Regions from separate parts of the Homo sapiens genome. Here all the other regions are linked to region 1. The links are contacts of gene promoters, found by promoter capture Hi-C in blood cells and fetal thymus (Javierre and others, 2016). All regions are on one chromosome and are shown on one strand. Each heading gives the region's core, a stretch centred on a gene start or on the middle of the fragment in contact. The rest is flanking DNA. Distances are from core to core; before and after follow the strand shown. Region 1 holds the start of SLC33A1 (solute carrier family 33 member 1). Region 2 overlaps LINC00880 (long intergenic non-protein coding RNA 880). Region 3 overlaps CCNL1 (cyclin L1).

The links. The method cuts DNA at HindIII sites, captures the fragments that hold promoters and counts their contacts. A CHiCAGO score of 5 or more calls a contact.
Region 2: a contact is called between a fragment that was not itself captured here and the fragment with the promoter of SLC33A1 in region 1, in 1 of 17 cell types (naive CD8 T cells). The highest score is 5.3, in naive CD8 T cells.
Region 3: a contact is called between a fragment that was not itself captured here and the fragment with the promoter of SLC33A1 in region 1, in 2 of 17 cell types (naive CD4 T cells and total B cells). The highest score is 8.8, in naive CD4 T cells.

The regions. Positions count from the first base shown.
Region 1 is chr3:155,852,415-155,857,103 of GRCh38, forward strand. SLC33A1 (solute carrier family 33 member 1) reads right to left here and starts at 2,013. Exons shown (of 6, transcript NM_004733.4): 1 at 809-2,013. The coding sequence starts at 1,583. LOC105374174 (a long non-coding RNA gene) reads left to right here and starts at 2,339. Exons shown (of 3, transcript XR_924607.4): 1 at 2,339-2,664. RefSeq lists enhancers at 1,601-1,670, 2,041-2,600. The HindIII fragment of the contact is 4,607 bases long and covers 1,254-4,689 here.
Region 2 is chr3:157,090,358-157,094,650 of GRCh38, forward strand. All of the region lies in intron 3 of LINC00880 (long intergenic non-protein coding RNA 880), which reads right to left. The region is part of intron 1 of LINC00881 (long intergenic non-protein coding RNA 881); the gene reads left to right. Among named protein-coding and RNA genes, the nearest start is that of LINC00881, 2.6 kb to the left of the region's middle. The HindIII fragment of the contact is 1,534 bases long and covers 1,856-3,389 here.
Region 3 is chr3:157,146,326-157,150,754 of GRCh38, forward strand. CCNL1 (cyclin L1) reads right to left here. Exons shown (of 11, transcript NM_020307.4): 6 at 3,957-4,056; 7 at 3,740-3,844; 8 at 3,511-3,652; 9 at 3,160-3,271; 10 at 2,962-3,060; 11 at 1,228-2,264. The coding sequence ends at 1,916. Among named protein-coding and RNA genes, the nearest start is that of CCNL1, 12 kb to the right of the region's middle. RefSeq lists a silencer at 2,292-2,441. The HindIII fragment of the contact is 5,483 bases long and covers 1-4,077 here.

The DNA.
Region 1 (4,689 bases), core at 763-3,262:
ACAAACTTTAAACTCTTTTCCCATAGTAATTAAAGAAAATCTTACTAATTTAGTCACAGCCTTTCTCAGCACGATTTCCCAAACCCAGTTCCACAATTTAGGCAATGTCCTGTACTTTTTTGTACTTTCCTGCCTCAGTGCACTTTTACTTTGTGTTGTGCATTCTGGTGTGCCATTTCCTGGCCTCGTGGAATCTTATTCAAGAACAAAGTCAAATGTTATCTGCAATGTGAAGCCTGACTCCCAAAGGCAGTTACTAACTGGCAACTCTGAACTCTCCTAAAATGTTCATCTTCCTTATTTCTTGAGTGCAGAACTCTGCCTTATTCATTAGAGGCCTTAGAATCCCGTCCCTTAGCTGGTTCAATAATGTTTGAACGAATAAACCCTGTTCCATTCACTAGAAGGCTGGATTCTGGGTACAACGGTAGGGGTAGAAATGGATTAGAAAGTATAGAGCTAGAAACCTAAAACCAACAAGACAAAAGGAAAAATGTGAACCATATGAGCCACACTTTTTAAAAGTGTGCATTTGTGTATTAAGCAAGTGGCATGAATCCCTGGACTCGGTTGTGTTATTTGATGGGTTGCCTCTCCCTGTTAACCGCATAGTGATCATTTGATTGCTCTAATATCATTCATTTTGGCTTTAATATTTCAAAGAAGCTCATTTGGACGAAACAGAAAACTTACCTTGAGTTATCTCCCATACAATGATTTCCAGTAAATTAATGAGCTTCCCTCCAACGTCACACACTCTTTCAAAAGGATAAATAAACCTAACACCATAATAGCTTAAATACACTACCTGAAAGAGTAACGATTCCTCTGGGTTGAGGCTGAAACCGCAAATATTTGTTACAAAAGTCGGCAGATTCAAGGGCCAAAAACAAAACATTGCCCAAAAAGTAACCCGCTGTTTGGCCCACCGAATTGCAAGTAGAAGCATAACCCACATTTTCCCTGGATAACATAGTTAACGCCCAACCATCGACGGCAATGTCCTGAGTGGCGGCCAAGAATTCAAACAAAAAGAACGCCACAGTGAGAGCAATCACGTCGGGTGTTCTGTCATCGGTATTCCCAAGCAAACGGTCCACCTGAGTGGATAAATAGATCATGAAGAGTCCTAGTATATACTGTGTCGGGACAAGCCAAGATTTGCGACGACCGAAGTTCTTAACGTAGACCGCATCAACCAACGGGGCCCAGAGTAATTTGAGACTGAAGGGCCAAAAGACAAAACTGAAGAAAGCTTGGTCTGTATAGCTAACATTTTTGCTTTGCAAAATGAGTGGGATGCTTCCCGCCAAGCCCAGGGGAATACCCTGAAGCACGTAAAGAAAGAGTAGTAGCAAAATGCTGCTTAGTTCGGCCCGGAAGCTCTGTGGGGCTTTTAAGAAGTCGCCAGTGCCGGTATCCCCCAGAAGAGCTTCTCTGTCCCCTTCCCGGCCCGCTGAGTCCAAATGACTGTCATCCCAACCGCCTGGCGGCAGGGGACCGCTCTTCATATCCAGAGAGTGACTGAAATTCCCTGGCCGCCGTTGCCGGCTGCTGTCCTTGTGGGAGATGGTGGGTGACATATCAGAGACGATGCAGAGCCCCGTCTGTGGGGGGCCGAGGCTGAGCGTTTTGGATCCGTCCAGTCCCAGGTCCAAGGCTGTCGCGCTGGACCAGGGTTTCGGTGGTTCACGGGATGGTGGCAGGGCTCAGAGCGATAAGGGCACTTCTTACTGCAGCCCGGAGTGCTGAAGCCGGGAGCCAGTCCTCTGGCTAGAGGCCCAGAGGATGCCTGGATAGGTGCCCCCTGGAACGGCGTCAAAGAGCCTGAAGGAGACCCCCGGGCAGCAGCGCCGGGCTCGAGGCTGGAGGTGTGTGCCGTGGTGCCAGGATGGAAACCAGCTCCTACCTGCGGCGGGATCGAACGGCTGGTCTCCCGACCCAACACCTCCAGCTCTCGCTGCTATCAATGCGGCAGAGAGCACTTTCTCTACAGGACTCCAGAAAAAGCATATAACTTCCTGCCTCGCGCTTCAGGAAGTGGTCCCAGTCTCTAACAGGTCCCTTCCCAGCCTCCAGAGCAAGCCAATCAGGGACACGCTCTCGTGGCCCAGTTCGGAAACAATGCTTGGTGGGAACCTGCAATCTTGGCTGCCGGAACCTTCGGGGAGGATTAACGCCGGCGCACCGTGCGGCCGGGGCGGGGCGCCGCCCAAACTCAGGCCCTGTGACAGCGACTGTGGCGGTCTGGAAAGCGTGGGCCTCGGTCATTGGGCACGAGCGGTCACGTGACAGCGGGTTCCTCCAGGCCAGCGCTGGTGGTTGAGTGATGTAATCACGTGGGGTCTGAAGTCTTCGTGGGTGTAGGTTTCTTCGTTATGCTGACGACAGGCAGTGCCCGAACTCTAGGCTGGGAGTTGTGCCATGCTGCTGCTTTCGTGGGCTGACCAGAAAAGGGTAGAAGGATTGACGTTTACGAAGTTTTTGAATCAGGAGGCAAGGTCGCCTTGTGCCCCCAAAAGGATAGAAAAAGGCCTGGCAAACTGGAGAATCGCGTCCTTACGGTGCCTACATATTTATAGTACGAATTAAACTGCTCAAGGGGTGCTAGGTTTGTCTGCAGTCCGTTTCTCCCTCATGGTGGAAGACGCGTGGGGAAACTTGGTAACCAACTCTAATTACATTGGTGATTGGAAGACTCGTTACATCCTGTTTTTATGTTGCAATAAAACGTCTTGTGGCCGGGCGCGGTGGCTCACGCCTGTAATCCCAGCACTTTGGAAGGCCGAGGCGGGCGGATCACCTGAGATTGGGAGTTCAAGATCAGCCTGACCAACAAGGAGAAACCCGTCTCTACTAAGAGACGTACAGGAATTTGAGAATCTGATTAATTTTTTTTCTGCTCTCTCACCTCTGGCAGAAAGATTATTATTTTTTTTTCTTTTGAGAGGAATCTCACACTGTCGCCTGGGCTGGTGTTCAGTAGGGCCATCTCGGCTCGCTGCAGCCTCCACCTCCCGGGTTCAAGCGATTCTCCTGCCTCAGCCTCCCGAGTAGCTGGGACTACAGGCACGCGCCACCACGCCCGGCTAATTTTTGTATTTTTAGTAGAGACGGGGTTTCACTATGTTGGCCAGGCTGGTCTCGAACTCCTGACCTCGTGATCCGCCTGCCTCGGCCTCCCAAAGTGCTGGGATTACAAACGTAATGGCAGGCTAGGCACAGTGGCTCACGCCTATAATCCCAGAACTTTGGGAGGCCGAGGCGGGTGGATCACGAGGTCAAGAGATTGAGACCATCCTGGCCAACACGGTGAAACCCCGTCTCTACTAAAAATACAAAAAATTAGCTCGGCCTGGTGGCGCGCGCCTGTAGCCCCAGCTACTTGGGAGGCTGAGACAGGAGACTCGCTTGAACCTGGGAGGCGGAGGTTGCAGTGAACCGGGATCGTGCCACTGCAATCCAACCTGGCGACAGAGTGAGACTCCGTCTGGAAAAAAAAAAAAAAGGCAACTGTAAAGTCCTCTAATCTTTGTTAAGTAGAAGAATAGATTGCAGAAAAGAACAGTGTTGGCCGGGCGCGGTGGCTCACACCTGTAATCCCAACACTTTGAGAGGCTGAGGCGGGCAGATCACTTGAGGTCAGGGGTTCAAGACAAGCCTGGCCAATATGGTGAAACCCTGTCTCTACTAAAAATACAAAAATCAGCTGGGTGTGGTGGCTCATGCCTGTAGTCCCAGATACTCGGGAGGCTGGGGCTGGAGAATCGTTTGAACCCGGGAGGCGGAGGTTGCAGTGAGCCGAGATCATGCCATTGCACTCCAGTCTGGGTGTTAAAGAAAAGAACGGTGTCATTTAAGTCCAATCAAGATTAAACCAAAACAACCATGAGTGGGATTTATATTGTGCTGGATTCAAACCCTGGCTCTAACAGTAGTTGTGCCTTGGACAGATTACTTAACCTAAGCCTCCATTTTGATGAAAATTAAAATAGAGTTCATAACATCTATTTCAGAGAGTTGTGGGAGTTAAAGGAAGCAGCCAATAAAGCCATTCACAATCAGTAGGTGTTTTTTTTTTTTCCAAAAAAAAAGGAAATACTTGATGAGTTTGTATGTCTTGTGTTTGATTTTTTCCCCTTCTTTAATTTGAAATAATTATAGATTCACAGGAAATTGCAAATATAGCAGAGTCCCATATACCCTTCACCCACCTTCCTCTGATCATTGCCTCTTACGTGATTATAGTACAATATTAAAACCAGGAAACTGACATCTGTAAAATATTGTTAACCAGACCACAGGCTTTATTCCAATTTCACCAGTTTTTACATGCACTAGCTTGTGTGTGTGTGTGTGTGTCCTGTGTTACCCTTTCATAGTGCTATCCCTTATAGTACTACATATTAATAGTTGCACCAGTCCACTGTCCTCCTCCCTGTTCTTTGGCAATCACTAATTTGTTCTCCACGGCTATACTTACGTCCTTTCAAGAATATTATAAAAGTGGAATCATATAGTATGCAACTTTGGGGATCAACTTTTTTTTTCATCCACCAAAATGTCCTTGAGATCCATTTAAGATGGTAATATATCAGTATCAATGTATGTCCGTCTTTCTTTTAAATCACAGAGTATTAGTCCATTGTATAGATACCAAATCAGTTTTGAGTTTTTTTCATTTTTTTT
Region 2 (4,293 bases), core at 1,373-3,872, 1.2 Mb after region 1:
TATTAAAGAAGAAGCAGTGAAAAACTGTGAAAGGCAAAATGACATCAAGTTTCAGACTCAAGTTGGAGCCATGGTGTTCTGTAGCACCATAGTTCATTCATCCACTCATACACACTACTCTGGGTGGATATCTGATATACTGCCAGGTACAAGGTTCTGCCTCAGTAGGCAGGGAAAGGGGAAAGGAAATAGAAATCCGGGAGGATTCTCGGGTTCTTTGTGCAGCTTCATGGATGTTGATACCATTTACTGTGATTGCAAGTAGAGGAACAGAAATGGACCTGAGAGGAAGATGGCATGTTTTGAACATGGGTTTGAGGTGGCTGTAGGACATCCAGGTGGAGACCTCCAGGAAGAGTTAGGAACATGAGTTCCAAGCACAGGAGAGAGGCCTGGAGGTGCCCACTGGGGAACAGTCAACTTAAAGATGGTCACTGAAGCCAAGGCAGGGCTGGGATGGCCCAGAAGAGCAGGCAGAATGAAAAGACTATGAAAGCATGAAACCCAAACCTGACAGATACCAGATCCTAAGGATCAAATAAGAGATCCTGAGGAACAGATGGAGAAATGGAAAGAAAACCAGAAAAAAGTGGCATCAAGCAGTTCACATCAAGACTCTCCAGGTTGAAGACGTAGTCAGGAGTGGGAAATGCCACCGAGATGTGAAGCAAATGAGCACCGGAATATGTCTGTTGTATTTGACAATGAGGAAGTCATTGATTACTTGTGAGACATTGGTTTTAGTGGGGATGTGAGGGCAGAAACAAAATCACACTAGGTTAGAAGCAAAATGGAGTCAAAGAAGAGAAGAGGCAGGGGTAGTGGGTATAAACCACTGCTTCAAGAGAGTTGGTTAGGCAGGGAGGGGGAAGTTACAGCTAAAAGGGGAGGCAGGGAGAGTTTCCTTTATTCATTGTCGTTTTGTTTTATTTGTTGTGTTTTGTTTTTGCAACTATGGGAAACTGGAACGAGCTTATAGGAAAGGGGAAGCAGGAGGGGTCAGCAAGGAGAAATAACTTGGAGTCTCAGTACAACCCCCAGCACCACCACAGGGTGAGTGACAGAAGAGGGGATTCTGGCCCCAGATAACCCAAAGGAAGGGATCCTCTTCCTTGGTTATTTTTTTTCTACCACTGGAAAGGAAGAAACGTACATGGGAGGTTTAGAAATGGACTTGGGGAGCTCTTTAAGCAAGGTTTATCTGTGTCAGGATCTAACCCTGGCAGTAATCTTACCATCAAATGCATTTAATCAGACCCATTTGCATGTGGAGCTGTGCCCAGTGCTATTCAAATAATGTGAAATGGATACTGTTATTACCATGTCAGTCAGGACTATGGGTAGCAAGTGACTGAAACCCAGCTCTAACCACGGGATCCATGGGTTTGCTAAAAACTGGGTAGACTGGCTTTAGGCCCAGTTAGATTTCAGGTGCTTTAAAGGTGTTGTCATGTATGATAGGCATAATGTTTTGAAATTATCAATGTAGTTTTCTCTTTTGCCTTTCAAAGCATATGAACTTAGTCTACTCTAGGCATTTATCTGCCTAGGAAGAAATGAAAGTTCTTTCCAGAAAGTATGCAAAGAGAAAGAAAACATAACACTCAGCTTCTGGCATTCAAAAATAAATTTTGTAGCAAGGCAATAGCCATGTAATTCAAGCCCTTACCTTGAGAAAATATCCTGTACATTCCATTACCTTCCTCTTCAGAGGGTCAAGAACTGAGCTTGGTAGACTAAACCTTAGGGTTTTATATTCGAAAGGTCTAGACCAGGAGAAAGTGGGGATTATCAGAGGACAGAAGTAGCAGAATAAACAAGAGGCCTGAGTGGAGAGATTGTATTGGAAAAGTAAAGCTTAACCACAAAGGCAGAGGGAGATCGTTCCCCCACGCCCCCTCCAGAATTATGAGAGGAAGAGCCCAGTGTTGGTCGGGTAGCAGCAGGCCCTGCTATGGACTTTTCAAGCTCTGTCAGGTCCCTGGGAAGGCTAGATTCTACCCAGACATAGCAGAAAGCCTGTAGCCAGCTTGCCAGAGGTGATCATTGTAGTGAGGTGACTCAGTGGTTTGGGCTGCCGAGGAGACCCCTGGGACCAGGGTTGATAGGAAGTCATGGACAGAAGTCGGAGTCTGTAGCAGCAGGAAAAGCAGAGAAGGAGCTAAGCCAGTCAGGAAACACCTTTGGGAGCACTGCTTCAGATCACCTCAGATGGACACAAGCTCCCCATCCACAGACCCCCACATCAGAGGCTTGCAGTGCACCCAGGACAGACAAAAAGTGGATGTTGTCTCAAAATAATCACATACAAGGCAGCTATGCTCAAGGACCAGTACAAGGACAAAAGTTCCCTTCCTCTCAACACCATGAGGACACAGAAAAGACACACACCACCATACTACCTCCACCCCAGCACACCCTACCTGGATGACGATCAAAACATTTAAAAATCCTTACAGGCTCAGGCGCTGAGGAGTATAAATGGAGATGTCTTACTATGTCCAGAGTTAACCCTTTAGTTGATGGATTATGAGGAGCAGGGACCTCAGGGCAGAACCTGTTTACCAACTGCTCCATGCATACTTTAGTATTTTATCAATGAGGGCAGCCATAATGCCATGTACCTGTTGAATATTGGCCATGCATCCAGATGGCATCTTTATAGGAGGGGAAGGAGAAAGAGGAAGCCATCTGAGAAAGCGAGCATGTTCTCAATGGGGATATTGAATTATTGGATTGAATCAAGATTTAAACCCTAACTAGTGAAGGACCAGACTGGTTATGGACAAACTAGAGAAATTACATTTTATTGGCACATCCAAGTTGCAGTATGAGTTGAATTTACCATCTGTCAGCTTTCTTTGTGTTAGTTTCACTCTCAGGTAGAAGCTCCAAGCATCAGCATACCAAAGGGCAAAGAATCTCTTTCTTAATAGTGCCTGCAAAATCCCAGTCAGGCTCACATTGGCTTAGCTTTGGTAATGTACCCATCTCTGAACCAAGCCCTGATTGGCCAAGCCCAGGTCACATAACTATTCCTAGCGTCATGAACTGAAAGTGGAGTGAGAGGTGGCTCCCCTAAAGAAAATCAAAAGGCTGTGAGCAGAAAAATGGGGTAATGAATGTTGGGTAGGCAGGCACAACAGATAGAACCACTATTGCCTTCTGGAGTTTAACTCTCTAAAACTCAGAAAGCACAGTATCTCCATGGCAGGAAATGAATTGGCACCTGAGCACTTATTCATACATCGATCAGTGTAGAAAACTAACTTTGAAAATCATAAAGCAGATTTATTTTTCCCTCTTAAATTTTCTTCCCACACTGATTAAATTAATTTTAATAATTAGAGTTGGGAAATATAATCAACTAAATATCTAGTATAGTTTAAAGCTTGGTATAAGCTATAAATAGTTCCACTTAGGAAATGCTCAGTCTCCCTTTTTATTGATGTGAAGACAATAACTGTTTTACTTTTTCTCTGTGTATTATTTTCTCTTTTTTAAGAATCACCTTCTTGTTGGGCATGGTAGCTCACACCTGTAATCCCAGCTACTTGAGAGGCTGAGGCAGGAGGATTGCTTGAGCCCAGGAGTTAGGGGCTGCAGTGAGCTATGATTGCACCACTGCAGTCCAGTGACAGAGAAAGACTCTGTCTCTACAAAAAGAAAGAAAAAAAAAACCATAGAATCAACTTCTCCTAAATCCAAGATGAACTGCACAATTAATTTATTGCCTATTTTTAAAAAAGGTTTTTGTAATAAACAAAAGTTAATTATTCCAGATACAAAGAGATCGTAATGGCAGCATCAGCTTTTCTTCACAGACTCTTATTTTCAATGTCACAAAACACTTCCACATAAATTTTTAAATCCACATGATTTTAAAATCAGCCCTAAGTAAAAGGAGATATTTAAAGTCTAGAAAAAGGAAACATAGTCATCAGTTTTACTCCAAAATTTATGCTGTCTTTTGGAAAGAATATTGTTTCATAAAGGATATCTTGATATTTACAATATATAAAACTTAAATCTCAGAATTGAAAAACTCTTTGGGAAAAAAAGTATTAATCATAATAAAGGAAATAAACTCATCATCCTCTAGTGTCTGAGTCACATAATTAATTCAGAAGGGGCTGGCTTTCTCTGCATGTGGGATCCCAGGTATTCATTTATGCATCAAATATTTATCACACCCTTCATAGCTTCTCCGCACTGTGCTGGGCACTGGGGATGTGAAGATGAGTGAGACAGGCTCATGTCTGGGAAGAATGGAGACAGATGGAGAACACAGAG
Region 3 (4,429 bases), core at 86-2,585, 1.3 Mb after region 1:
GATAAAAATCAAGACCCTGAAAAAGATCTTTGCCTAGCCCACAAAGCCACCTCTAAAAACACCTTTAACATACAAACCTCATTCCACATGCAGGTGTATCCTCCACAACTCCCCATCTTCACAAACAACCCTCACCCACAGCACTCCTATTTCCAAGCAAAGATTAGGGACATAAGTAATTTCAACACTATTAAGAATTTAATACTTGGGAGGCTGAGGTGGGAGGATCACTTGAGGCCAGGAGTTCGTGACCGACCTGGGCAACGTAGCAAGACCTCGTCTCTAAAAAAAAAAAAAAAAAAGTTAAAAAAAAAAATCAACATTAATTTGCTAACAGGGCCTTTGCTGACATTTGCCTTTGCCTTTCTTCAATGTCTATCTTGTAGGGGAAGCAAACTGTTCAGCATTTAGAAGCAGTTAGCTTTTCAGAAATATCTATTTATAATTCAGCAATGTGTATTACAAATCAGGCAGAAAGAAGTCTTAATGAACTATCTACCCTCTTTCAAGCATGAAGTGGCTAACTTTTGCTGGGTCTTGTTAGTTTCTGGTTAGTCTTTATAGTTAGAACTATAACTGATTTAAGTAGCACACCCAACACTTTTATATCCTAATGAATCTTAATCTCCTTCAAAGTAGTTGCCTTGTGAAGCTATTTTTTCCAGCCTCCACCACCTGCCATTGGTGAACACATTTTAAGTCTTTGGAATCTCCTCTTCAGAAGCTGTAACTTTATTTTTAAAAATATCCTTAGCAGTAATACATCTTCCTCTTTGTGGGTGTATTTTATTTCTTGAAACAGCAACAAATCACTTGGAGCCAAGTCTAGTGGACAATTAAAGTAGGTAAAATAAATGTAATGGAGACCTTAGTGTAATTATAAAGCGATGCAACATTTTGACTCTGTAAACTGATTTCCAAAATGTTGAAAAAAATAGTAAATGTGAGTAACTTGAAAACATTCATCTGGATAGAAATTCCGGCTTTTTCATCAAAACTTCACTTCTTTGTGATCAGCTTGTATTCTATCAACCACTCAAGTTCAGGGGCCTCACATTTTCTCCTAGCCTACGTAAAAATCGTAACATTAAATGCCTAAATTATACAGAACTGTTAAAGCTCAATAGTTACTAAGTTTTGGTTCATTCAATAGGGTACCTCATTTCAGAAATAGTACTTAAATCTGACTCAAAATTACCTTATGACACCATTCAAAAGCAAATCAGGTTTTTTGGTTTAGTGCTAAAATATAACATTTAATGTCACATTGTTGGGCGACTCCCATTTACTTTTTCCATATATACAGTGAAGACTTACAATAGCTCACAATGCAGTTAAGAATTGCATTTTAATAATCTCAAACTACCATCTAATGGAGGAAAGAATAAGTTTGTCAGAAAACCAGTACAGCCATTTTGCTATTAAAATTTTCCTTTTTAATAATTTATTTAAATAAGGTATTTGAAGCAGTTTAGAAAAAACAAGATTTGTATTTTATTTCCTTGTAAAAATCTTTACACATGCAGACAAACCAGTGTTAAGAAAGTATTCACCATCATTTAAACAAATAACCACTTAAATAGAACAGTGTCTGCAATTTTATCTGTATAAAAATAAGATACATTTTTACAGAATTCACGCTCCAGTTCTTATAGCAATAAACAATACACAACTATAATAAAGTACAATTGAACCTGACCATGGTTTTTAATTAGATACTGCTAGGGCATTTTAATGTGCAAAAAAATTAACATAGTTCTTTTCAAAAGAAACTGTCCTCAGTGTTCTAGAGACCTAGAGGGTTTCAAGAAATCAAATCCTAATCAGTTTGCGTTTAATGTTTTTGATTGAGTCCATACATCACACTGTAGATAGGCAAAACCAAGAACTGATGCAGGCTCAAAGGAAGAGAAAGTCAGCGCCTGTGCCTGCCATGTCCTGAGCGACTGCCACCATGGTGCTTGCTTTTATGGGACCTCTCAAAGGAGCGAGATCGTTCACGCCTGTCCCTATGATGTCCCCTTTCATGCCTGTGTTTCTTGGCTGCATCTGAGTGATCCCGAGACTTGCTCTGAGATCGAGAACGAGATTTTTTCCTTTTATGACCATGTCTGTTTGAACTTTTTAAATCATCTCTGGTATGCTTGGCCTTAAGGTGAGGAGAACCATGATTATGATGTCTTCGAGGGCTTTCACTGTGACTGCGGGACCTGCTTCTTGATCTCGAGCTGTATGTTCCAGATCGACTCCGCCTATTATTATAGCTTAGATAATAAAAATTTGAAGTTTAGGTTCAGTTTCTATGGGGAACAGATTATTCCGGTGGTTGCTCATAACAGGTTCAAAACAAAACTACCAGCTACATAAATGACAAACCAGAACTTTTCAAAATCTCCCCACCCCTCACTGCTGTATGCCCAAGCCTATATATAACATATTAAATCTTAAGCAAATGTTCTTATGTCTTTATTCCAAGGGGAGTAATTAGCAATTTTTATAGTGTCCTAGAGCTATGCTTTTTATTAAGTATCTCCCACATGTTCAAAAGACATTGAAGAGCCACGAAGAGCTAACAATCTAATTACAGGCCTAACTAAAGAAGATTCATTGACTGGTTAATTTGATTATTGGTTATTAATAAGGGGTTAATGAAACACATTTTCTAACTGAAATTAAAAAAAAAAAAAGAAGTTTTCACATTATGAACAATACTATGGCCCTCAAGCACTTTGTGGGTAGCTCCTACACTTCTCCAAAAAACATGGGAGAAAATATAACAGAATGCCATTAAGATACTGTATGTCCAGAACATCTCCAAACTCATTTCTCATAATTTGCCTCATACTAAAAGCCTAATTCTAACCTAACTTTGAAAATAATCTATGTTCAATTTTTAAAGAAAAAGCAATAACCTTTAAAAACTCCAAATAAGACTGCTTCCCTAAGAAAACATTTACTTACTGTCTTCTTGGAGTATGTGATCTAGAACGTGATCGTGTTCTTGACCTCGATCGACTTGCACTTCTGCTATTTCTACTTCTCTTGCTGTCTTTTCTTACACTTCAAAAAATCATGACATATTAGTTACAAACTTAGTGTGTTAAAAAGTAAACACATAAAAGATTCCTCAAGCCAGTTTTCCAGCCCAAGTATACTCACCCATTGTAAGGGCTTTTGGAAGCCTGTTGTCTATCCTCAGGTTCTTTTTTGACTGTCTTCACATTAATGGAGATTGGTGATTTCTCTTCAGCTTTTACTTCTCTTGGTGATGCTTTTAAAAGATATAATAACAACATGTTAACTACTGGATTTAACAGAGGGCCAAAAGTTGTTTCTAAATGTAACTCAAAGTACCATGCTTCCGCTTCCATGTTGGTTGACTGCCATGAGAGAACATAGCAGCAGTTTCCTAACATCATTTTTCTCTATGCAACTTTCAAATGTAAAAGCTCTCTAATAAAGACACACTTTCAGTGCCCCCAAGTCATTTTAATTCTAAATACATCTTACATGGCTTGGAGGCTGGAGAAAATCCACCCAGGGTTGAAAGGGCTGGAGTTCCATCCGGATTCAATCCCTTTGCTTTTAATTTGGCTTCTTGTAAGGCTACTTTTCTTTTTTCTACTTCTTTTTCCAGTAATTCATAGTTTGGCTGTTGGAGGAAAAAAAAGTTAGTATTTCTTCCTTAGAGTAGCTTGGACTCTTAGCATGTTGGCACAAACGAGTAAATAGAGAATACCTTTTTTCTGGTATAAAGCCTAAGTGTTTCTATGCAGATTTCCTGGATTTCCTCTTCTGTAGTACCAAAAAGAAGAAACCAATGGGGACGAGTTGGCAACGGAATCTAAACCATAAGAACAGAATGTTTTAAATTAAATTTTTGCTAAATCTGTATTGGAACCACCGAAAATTTGTGTGATTTATCCTACAGAACAAAATGGGAAATATACACCTACCTGAAGTGCTCTAGCTGCAAGGTAGATGCAAGCACATGCTATAGTCTCTGGTTGAAATCGAACAAACACATTGGTTCGAAGACTGTCATTCATGTAATTCCTGAAAAATATTTCAACTATAAGCTTGCATGTAAACAAACCAGTTCTTCTGAAGCTTACATAAAATTGGAGACTCAATCTACTTTATTCTTTTTTCTTCTCTTATTTATATTCACATCCTCATATTCTAGCATATAACAACTCTTAACTCAAAAAAATCAGTAAGCAATAAGAATTTAATACTAGGACCATATGCGATTTTCCTATATATGAGCGAAGCCCTTTTAAATTATTTCATATTACAATCCAAACTAGAAATTACTCCTAAAAAGTTAATATATTTCTGTAAAAAGCAATGCTTTTCAAAGTCAATTCTGACACGATTAGTTTCAGAAATGATAAACCACTCCAATAATACTTCAAGCCATTAATTA